3 separate regions of the Homo sapiens genome follow, and regions 1 and 2 are each linked to region 3. The links are contacts of gene promoters, found by promoter capture Hi-C in human tissues and cell types (Jung and others, 2019). All regions are on one chromosome and are shown on one strand. Each heading gives the region's core, a stretch centred on a gene start or on the middle of the fragment in contact. The rest is flanking DNA. Distances are from core to core; before and after follow the strand shown.

Evidence for each region. Contacts are between HindIII fragments. The study calls those that stand out against the background at their distance.
Region 1: a contact is called between a fragment that was not itself captured here and the fragment with the promoter of CCDC146 in region 3, in 2 of the 25 tissues and cell types used here (aorta and pancreas).
Region 2: a contact is called between a fragment that was not itself captured here and the fragment with the promoter of CCDC146 in region 3, in 7 of the 25 tissues and cell types used here (aorta, dorsolateral prefrontal cortex, hippocampus and 4 more).

The regions. Positions count from the first base shown.
Region 1 is chr7:77,354,743-77,358,357 of GRCh38, reverse strand. It overlaps GSAP (gamma-secretase activating protein), which reads left to right. Exons shown (of 31, transcript NM_017439.4): 15 at 2,711-2,803; 16 at 2,928-3,145. Among named protein-coding and RNA genes, the nearest start is that of GSAP, 60 kb to the left of the region's middle. The HindIII fragment of the contact is 5,107 bases long and covers 1-3,615 here.
Region 2 is chr7:77,315,619-77,319,070 of GRCh38, reverse strand. The region is part of intron 26 of GSAP (gamma-secretase activating protein); the gene reads left to right. Among named protein-coding and RNA genes, the nearest start is that of CCDC146-AS1, 69 kb to the right of the region's middle. RefSeq lists an enhancer at 2,478-2,979. The HindIII fragment of the contact is 3,482 bases long and covers 244-3,452 here.
Region 3 is chr7:77,120,985-77,124,125 of GRCh38, reverse strand. It overlaps CCDC146 (coiled-coil domain containing 146), which reads right to left and starts at 1,511. Exons shown (of 19, transcript NM_020879.3): 1 at 1,394-1,511. It also overlaps the pseudogene FAM185BP. RefSeq lists a silencer at 1,726-1,825 and enhancers at 1,721-2,220, 2,221-2,722. The HindIII fragment of the contact is 9,649 bases long and covers 330-3,141 here.

The DNA of each region.
Region 1 (3,615 bases), core at 962-3,461, 230 kb before region 3:
TTTTTGTTTGTTTGTTTGAGACAGGATCTTGCTCTGTTGCCTAGGCTGGAGTGCAGTGGTATGATCTTGGCTCACTGCAACCTCTGCCTCTGGGCTCAAACTATCCTCCCACCTCAGCCTCCTGAGTAGCTGGGATTACAGGCGCATGCCGCCATGCCCAGCTAATTTTTTATATTTTTTGTAGAGATGGGGTTTTGTCATGCTGCCCAGGCTGGTCTCGAACTCCTGACCTCAAGTAATCCACCTGCCTCAGCCTCCCAAAGTGCTGGGATTACAGGCGTGAGCCACCGTGCCCAGCCAATAAAAATAATACCCTACCTTATTTTGTTTTTAACTGACAAATAGTAATTGTATATGTTTATGGAGTACAATGTGGTGTTTTGATACCTATATACATTGTGGAATGATCAAATCAGGCTAGTTAGCATATCCTGTATTAGTTTATTGTTGCTGTAACAAATTATGGCAAACTTAGAACTTCAAACACCACAAATATTCTCTTAAAGTTCTGTAAAGTTGGAAGTTCGAAATGAGTCTTGAAGGGGCTAAACCAAAGTGTGGGCAGGACTAGTGCCTTCTGGAGGCTCCAGGGAAGAATTTGTTCCTTGCGTCCTCCCTCCAGCCTCTAGAGCAAGCTTGTCCAACCCACAGCCCAGGATGGCTTGAATGTGGCCCAAGACAAATCTGTAAACCTTCTTAAAACATTATTTTTTTGAGGTTTTAATTTTTTTAGCTATCAGCTGTTATTAGTGTATGTTATGTGTGGCCCAAGGCAATTCTTCTTCTTCCCAGTGTGGCCCAGGGAACCCAAAAGATTGGACACCCCTGACTAGAGGCTAGTATTTCTTGGCTTGTGGCCACTTCGTTCCAACTACTTTCCTCATTGTATGGTCGTCTTCTCTTCTCTAGTCAAATCTCCCTCTCATAAGGACTTTTGTGCCTACCTGTGTCTACCTGGATATTCCAGGATAGTCTCCCCATCTCAAGATCCTAGTCACATCTGCAAGATCTCTTTTACCCTATTCACAGGCTCTGGGGATTAGCACGTGCATATCTTCAGGAGCCATCATTCAGCCTACCACAGATACTACTGCCCCTTTTGGTGAGACAAAAATTCCCTGTTCATTGAGGGACTGAACATCCATCCCTAGAGCCTACTCACCAAATGCCAAATAGGAATCTCCCTCTCACTACCTCAATGATGTTAACAACCCAAATCACTGTCATATATTTTCAAATGCCACCACCCCACGGACATAGTGCCATCCTAATTAACTAGTTAAGTGGTACAGCTGGGAGGTAACTAGGTCATTTGATGCCGATACCCTTTCCATTATGTCCCACTGTATTGTTGTTTGTGGTTTTCTAGTAAAGTGTTGCTATAATAAGATGATTGCAACCATTTGTGCTAAGCACTTTAGCATCATTTAATCCACGTTGACTGAAAGGACACTTGTAAGTCAACTGGTTTGAGTTCTATATCCTCTTCCCTTTCCACAGAACGCCTTCTATGCAAATGATTAGCATGTGTTCCTTCACTTCTTAGGAAAAGGAGTCTAGCTGGCTCACTTATAATCTAAATGTTTCATCTATATAAAATTACTACTGTGTGAATTTCTGTTTTCTAAGATCCTAGAAAAAGTATTGGCAAGGGCTACTTCCACCCTTCCATTCTCCAGAAACCTATTTTTTATACCTTGTCTCCATCTGAGTACAAATGTTCTTGATTCAAAAATATCTAGTGCAGGGACTGAAGGTGTGAATTCTAGTCAGCTTGATATGCAAGGAAATAAATTAGTACTTCACAAAGTGTCAATGTGTCTGCAGAGATTATTCTGATGAATATCGATTTAAAGGTTCTCTAAACAAAATGCTCCTGCTACTGATGATGATAATGATGATCACTGGACAAACATGGGCAACAAAATTTTAGAGCTTCCCGAAACTGGCAGAAATTATGAAGAAAATTCCCAATATAGGCTATTTCCAGCTTATCAAATTAAGGAATAATTCGTGTTGCTTGATATTTTTATTCTAATTTGCTCTGAGATCATTTAGATTCACATAAAGCCACAAATCACTTAGAAACAAAACTGCAGGTATAAATTAAGATAACCATAGCTAAATATCTGAAGAAAATTAGCCAAAGATGGAAATAAATGAGGTTTACCTAGTAAGAGAAATGTGGCTGGGTGTGGTGGCTCATGCTTGTAATCCCAGCATTTGGGGAGGCTGAGGCAGGAGGATTGCTCAAGCCCAGGAGTTCAAGACCAGCCTGGGCAACATGCCTGTAATCCCAGCACTTTGGGAGGCCGAGGCAGGAGGATTGCTTGAGCCCAGGAGTTCAAGACCAGCCTGGGCAACATGGTGAGACTCCATCTCTATAAAAATAGAAAATATTAGTGGGGTGTTGTGGGCACAGTCCTGTAGTCCCAGCTACTTGGGAGGCTGAGGTGGGGAGGATCACTTGAGCCCAGGAGTTTGAGGCTGCAGTGGGCCGACATCACACCACCGCTACTCCAGCCTGGGTGACAGAGTCAGACCCTGTCTTAAAAAAAAAAAAAAAAAAACGGGCTGTCATTAGATAGCTTATTACATTGGTAAAACTTTTGCCTTTTGAGATATTCAGAGACAAGCAGGGATAATGTGACATTCTGTACCTGTGCAGCTTTTACCACATGTAGATGATGTAAATCTTTCTCTTCTATAGACTATTATGTGGCTGTTTACTTACCTGGTCATTTCTTCCACCTACTTAATGTTCAACATCCAGACCTGATCTGCCACAATCTCTTTCTGACAGGTACGGCTATAGTTTTTCTCTTGTAGAGGTGGCCCATTTGAGTTTGTTTTGACTTTAATATCTATGTTTGGGTGAAAGGAGTTTCTTCTATTTGCTGATCTACTGTTTTTTTTTTTTTTGCCAGGAAATAATGAAATGATTGATATGCTACCTCATTGCCCTTTACAGTCATTGTCAGGGTCCCTGGTATTGGATTGTTGTTCTGGAAAGCTCTATAGAGCACTGCTCAGCCAGTCGTCTTTATTACAGCTTCTGCAGAACACTTGCTTAGACTGTGAGAAGATGGCTGCGTTGCACTGCGCGCTCTACTGCGGTCAAGGTGCGCAGTTCCTGGAAGCCCAGGTGAGAAGATAGCTCATGTTTTAAAATGGGCAGATAGACGACACTGAACATATTTATTTTGTGGTTGAAAATGGTCAGGAGTTATTTTTATTTAGTAACAATTAATTGAGGTGTGTGGCCTTGCTGCTGACATCGTCATCTTTTGCGCTGCTTTTTTATGGATCCCTACCAGGTCTCACACTCAGGGTGTTTCTGTTCTTTTGGGTACCCCCTTTTCCATATTGGGAATAAAAGTTTAGCTATGTCAGTAATATTTCAATGAAGAGCTCAGTAAATAATGCGTTTCTTAAATATCTACTTTTTCTCCTGGTCTGTATTTGATCTATAATTATCAAAAGGACTAAAATCTGGTGGCAGATATTTATTACATTTGTAATAAAAATAGCTTACATTTGTATTTCACATTAGAGTTTATTAAGTACTTCCACGTGCATTCTGTGTTATTTTACAGCTATCCTGTGAAGTCAGAA
Region 2 (3,452 bases), core at 735-3,234, 190 kb before region 3:
TTATTATTATACTTTAAGTTTTAGGGTACATGTGCACAACACACAGGTTTGTTACATATGTATACATGTGCCATGTTGGTATGCTGCATCCATTAACTCATCATTTACATTAGGTACATCTCCTAATGCTATCCCTTCCCCCTCCCCCCACCCCACAACAGGCCCAGGATCGTTTCCTTTGCTGTGCAGAAGCTTTTTTGTTGGGTGTAGTCCCTCTTACATATTTTTGTTTTCATTGTTTGTGCTTTGGATGTCATATTCAAGGAATCATTGCCAAGACCAATGTCAAGAAGCTTTCCCTCTATGTTTCTTTTAGGGGTTTTTCAGTTTCAGGTCTTATGTTTAACTTTCTAATGCATTTTGAGTTGAATTTTGTTTATGGTAAAGATAAGGGTCCCATTTCATTCTTTTGCCTATGGACAGTTTTTCCAACACCATTTATCAGAGATACACGATCCTTTCCCCATTGTGTGTTCTTGGTGCTTTTGAAGATTAGTTGCCTAAACATGAATGGATTTATTATTGCATATAAAGTTCTAATGAGTGTTAAACTTTATGATAGCTGTAACTACATATCAGCTGATATTTAGTTACTTCATTCATATATATTCATCCATTCATCATTTGTTCATTGCTTCATTTTAGGCCAACATATATATGATACTCATTTTGTGCCACGTACTGTTGAAAGTACACACAAATTAGTACACTTAATTTTCATAAAATTTTAACTGGTAGAAACTTAAGTTGGACCACATTAAATTGTCAGTGCCCAACCATTTTTTGGCCAACAAAAATGGCACTTTCATGTGGTTCCACTTAATATTATTCCCATTTTATAGATGGTGAAACTGAGGCCAGAAAGGTTGAGTAATTTGCCTAAAGTCACATAGCTATTAAGTGACAGAGCTGATATTCAAATCCAGGCAGTTTGGCTCCAAAATCCATGCTGCTTCTTGAATTTTATATTCCAGTTGAATTAGTTGATGTTGAAACATGGGCTATTTATGGGCCTAAAGAATCCCTACAGCATATGCTGCTCTGCATTTATGACACATCTGATACGGTTTGGAATCCTTCATTCTTCATCCACCTTATTTAATGTCTGTCTGTATGGCAGTACAAAAGGAGTTGAAAGGGACCATTTGTGAGGGGAATGGATGGTTTAAAATTATCCCAATGGAATATGAGTTATGAGGTACACCCTAGAAAGATTGAAGGATTACAGGAAAACTACCTTTGTGGCTTAAATTCTTAATTGTTTGTTGTTAACACAAAAAATTTGGTAGGGAAATGGATTGACAGTTTTAGATTTGTTCATTACAGATATTCAAGCTTCTTTTGAAAATAAATGAAACTGACTTACTGGGGACATTGTTACGCCTGGAGATCATAAAAATCCACTTTCTACCCAACTCACATTCCTTCACAGTGATAAGGAGGGAAAACAAAGATGTTATCCATAGTGATCGAGAATTATTATAAGTAGACTTATGGCTTGTGTCTGTGGGTCAGGTAAGGAAAAGGTGTTTCTCATTTTTTTAATTATACTTTAAGTTCTAGGGTACATGTGCACAACGTGCAGGTTTGTAACATAGGTATACATGTGCCATGTTGGTTTGCTGCACCTATTAACTCGTCATTTACATTAGGTATTTCTCCTAATGCTATCCCTCCCCCAGCCCCCAACCCCACGACAGGCCCCAGTGTGTGATGTTCCCCCCCAACCCTTGTCCAAGTGTTCTCATTGTTCAATTCCCACCTATGAGTGAGAATGTGTGGTGTTTGGTTTTCTGTCCTTGGGATAGTTTGCTGAGAATGATGGTTTCAAGCTTCATCCATGTCCCTGCAAAGGACATGAACTCATCCTCTTTTATGGCTGCATAGTATTCCATGCTCTCTCCTTTTCTCTTGAATGTTTATTTCCATCATGTGACATGGAAATAGAGGGGGGAGGTGACACTGGATCATGTGTGTGTGTGCATGTGCATGCTTGTATGAATTCAGGGTGTTTCTATATGCACATGCGTAAGTGTGCTTGCTTTCCAGGCCTATTGGACTAATGATGACTGTTTGAGTTACGATTGTCAGAGACTTGTAACATGAATTGGTTAAAGTTAAGAAGAGAATGGGGAACACAAAAAGGAAGTCAGGGTTTAGAGCTAGGGCATTTGCTTTTAAAAAAAGGAACTGTATTGCACTTGCTGGCTAGAGGAGGCCAGGAGCCCTGGAAGATGAGGATTAAAGTTGGGTGGAGCTGATGACTAATTATAGCCAATTTGCTCTGTTGCTCAGAGCTGATGTATAGAGGCCAAGAACAGGTCCCTGAACTTGGGACTGTGCCCTGGGGATAGAGGATGAAGGGTCATCAGGGACCTTTAGCATATGAACACAGGGCTGGAGAGGGAAATTTGAATCCAGAAAATCAATATCATCAATAATCTAGTGTAAACTTTTCTTCAGAAATAATTTTGTAACTTTTTACTAATAGTTTTGTGAAGAATTTCCAAATCCATTTGAAAAACGTTGTTGTTAATTAACTAGTAAAATAGTGGAGTTTTTTTGGACTCAGGGAAGCTAGTGGACTCATCCTGTTAGCCCATTAACACATGCTTGTGGGCAGAGCCTGTACTTCATCTGACCCTTGATGTTACAAGGACTTAGGACTGTGCCCCATGGCTTGTGATTCATGTGTTTAGAGAGAGAAAATCCCATGATTTCTCTGAATCCAAGCCCTGCTCGTTGGGCATCATCCTTTTGTCAGGTACCTTCCCAAGAGTAGGCTATGATTCTTCTGTCAGTCATTCCCACATTCAATGAGTTGCAAAGCCTGTACATGTTACCATGCCTCTCTGATTCAGTGCCTCCATTACCTCTTATCCACGTTCAGGCAATAGCTTCTCTACAGGTCTTCATACCTTCTGTAGCAAATTATTACTCCAACTCATTCTTTGCCTGTTGCCATATTAATATCCCAATGGTAAATCTTCTGTTCTGCTTAAAAACTTTCATTACCTCCTCAAAGTCTCTCAAATTAATAAATCTCTATCATTCAGCATTCAACCTCTGTCACCTGCACTCATAAGCACAGAACTGGTCACATTTTTAAAAATGTCTATTTTTTGTAATTGATTGTCTGCCTCCCCCAGCAGACTGCAAGGTGTATGGGAGCAGCAGTTGTGCCTGTTTTGCTCATTTTTATACTCTTAGCCCCTTGCCAGGTGTGTGGAAGGGATGTGCTGAATAAATTAGCTTTTCCAACCTTACCTCTTAATCTTTCTCTCCTCTAATATGATTCCAACCCAGCTGGATCATTTACTATTTTCTGAATATGCCCTGTGCTTTCTCATCTTCGGACCTCTGTTCATGTTCTATTAACACAGCTGCCAGTTATTAACAGTGACATTATGGTTGAAAGCCTACCCTACAATCACACAGTTGATGCAAATTTC
Region 3 (3,141 bases), core at 262-2,761:
TACCATAGACACAGAATTAACTATTAAGAATTAATATTTAATCTAAAAATGTCTAGTGTTTCTACAGAAAATTTGAGTACATTCTCAACTTCCTTAAACCAGTGCCTTTTTCAAATTTCTTTTCAAAGTTACACCTGTCAATTTTCATAAAAAATAGTTTGAAGATTATTCTGAATAATTATAACCAATGAAACACAAAGACAAGAAAAGAACTATTGCAGTGGGCCCTTGCTGAACCTGAGCTAGCACCTATAATGAGTGAGTCTTCACCGAAAGAAGAATAAGGAGGGAGCAAGGACTAGAAGGACAGAAAAGAGGCAATGATAACTTAAGAGAACACTGAATTTTTAAAAATTTTAAAAAGGTAGTGGCTAGCAGAGAACCTGAGACTTGTACCCATGAGAACTTTAGCCCAGTCTATCTATCACGATAGCCCCAAGAATTCTGGTCATTGTACTTGGGTAAGGGCTTCAATTTTTTAAGGCACTTGCATTTTATGAAATGTTAGTGTTTGCAGGTGTCTTGGCTAAATAATTTAGGGAATACATTTTAGGAGGAAGTAGGGGCACAGAGGGGGAGAGAGAAACCAGGCAGGAAAGAAGAAAAAAAGAAGAAAATAAATCTTTCTGTTCCCATTATTTTACTGCCCATAGAATTATAAAAGGTAAACACACACACACACACACACACACACACACACACACACACACACACACACACACCTTATAGGGTCATTTAGAACCATCTTTCTTCATTTTAAAACTAAAGAAACAGGTCTAGGTGACACAGATGAAGCAGTGGCAGAGCCAGGAAAATAATCTGACCCTTGTCCCTGCTCTTTCCACCGCACCATGGTGACTCTCTTTTTTGTGTCTTTTTTTTTTTCACTCTAAAACTGATGATCATTTGTAGTCAAAGAGATCAATGCTATTCTCAAAACAAGTTCTGATCTCTCATAATTTTCTTGGTAACTCAGAATCAATGTTAAGTACGTTGAAATAAAAATACAGTACTTTACACGGTAATTTGGTAGACTGTGCACCACGGTCCCATCCATTTTCTTACTTGATCCTCACAAAAACCCTTTGAGGCAAGGCAAGGAAGGTATTATCATCTACATTTTTAAAGTGAGCAAATTAAAACCCAAAGTAAGGTCACTTAGGGTCAGGACGGAGCAAGTACTCTATTCCTATATTTGGAATATAGGAGGGAATACACTTCCAAAGAGGCAATTCCCTCAAAAAGCACCAATCTTGCTCTTTACTCTCTTACCAAGGCATTCTCCATGCCCTGGAGATGCCCGCACTAGGTTAGTGAAGCTTGGATCTTGACATCCACATAGGTTACTCCTAGTTTGCACCTAGTTGTCAACTTAAAAAGCGCAGTTTCTTACCCCTTCCCTTGGTCCTGATCCTTATTTAGGCTCCTATTTTTCTCTTTGGGATTTGGCCTCCTGGGTCTCACTCCAAAGCTCCACCCTCTCCAAACAAGAAGTCGCGTCCTTGGTATCCAAGGTGACCATGCAGCTTTACCCTCGTTGCCCCCTTCCGTGCTTCCCATTGGCCAGTGGCCTCCCATGTACCGCCCCTCCAATAGCCAATGGTCTTGAAACAAAGGGCGCCCGCCTTTCCAGCGATTCTAACACCTGCCCTCTTACCCGTGCTCCCCTGCGCATTGCCTCCTGGGATATGTGGTTTCTAAGAGGCGGAGCTCTGCGACTTTCCACCGCTTTAGAACTACGTATCCCGTCGGCCTTAGCGAAAGGGGGTGGACTTAGGCAAGGGGTCCAGGTCAGAGTTCAGAGCTTTCAAATCCCAACTTGCCCCTGGGGATTACGCAGCTGATGTTTACATCGCCTAGTCAAGCCAACCGGCTCGCTCTTGTTTCAGCAAACCCTGACTTACGTCTCCTATTTGACTTGAGGCGGCACAGTGGCCAAGTCGATTGGCCGTGGCAAGTGACCCTCCCTGTGGCTGAAGTGTTCTGAGGACTGGCGAGAGAGGCGCGCCATGCTTGCCCCCTGTTCAGGTTGGGAGCTTGGCTGCTTCCGTCTCTGTCTCCGTCAGGTCCGACTGTGGGCTGGCGCTGGGCGCTGGTCTTGCTGGGCTTGCCAAGCCAGGCCGTACAGCTCAGGTAGGGGCGAGCGCTGGCCCGGATCGGAGACTGAGGTCCCTCCGCCTGGCCCGGCGCGCCGAACTCTGAAGGAGTGGACACTGCAGGTGAGCCCGTTCGGTCGGCTGCGGGCGCGGCTCCCGTGCCACCTGGCCGTGAGGCCCCTGGACCCCCTCACCTACCCGGATGGCGACCGCGTGCTGGTCGCGGTGTGCGGCGTGGAGGGCGGCGTGCGGGGCCTGGACGGCCTGCAGGTGAAGTACGACGAGGATCTGGAGGAGATGGCCATTGTGTCTGATACTATCCACCCCCAGGCGTCCGTGGAGGTGAACGCGCCCCTGAAGTTTGGCAAGTGAAGTGAAGTGAAAACGGGTTTGGGTCCCAGGGAACGCACAGTGAACTTAATAAATTTGGTCGACGTGCACTTTTAATTGGTCCTGGCTTTCTAAACCTAATTTACAGTTGGCCCCTTCGGAAATGCAACTTTTCCTCTGTTCTATTCTTGAGTATCCGAGTAGTATTTAAAAAATTAGGTTCCCAATTATAGAAATTTTATACATCGAATGGAAACACGATTTGGTATAATCCAGGTCAAATTCTATTTCTGGAGCCGCTTGTGTTCTTCTTTATCCCGTTGTCATTAGCAAACTGGCTTATTTTTCAAGGTTGAAGTTTCTTGACAATTCATTCAATGGTATGGCAGTCCATCTACATTTCCCCTTGCTCACAGCCTGGGGGTGTGTCCCAAAACAGCCCTGTCAATAGGATGTTCCAGGTACCACCTGGTTTGAGTATTTGGTTTTAGACGGGCGCCCAGCTTCTTACTGTTATGTTTCCATTCTTTTTGGCCTAAGTTTTCCATGAGTAGCAAGCTTTGAAGAAAAACACATGGTAAGCCTGCCTAGGAAGCTTCAATAATAATGCCTGCAAGATACCTTTCTTAGGTTTTCCTAAATGGCAAGCCACTGTGTACACACACTTTTCTAGGAAGGGCTCCCCAGACTGTCATTCTTCCTGGGACTGAAGGAA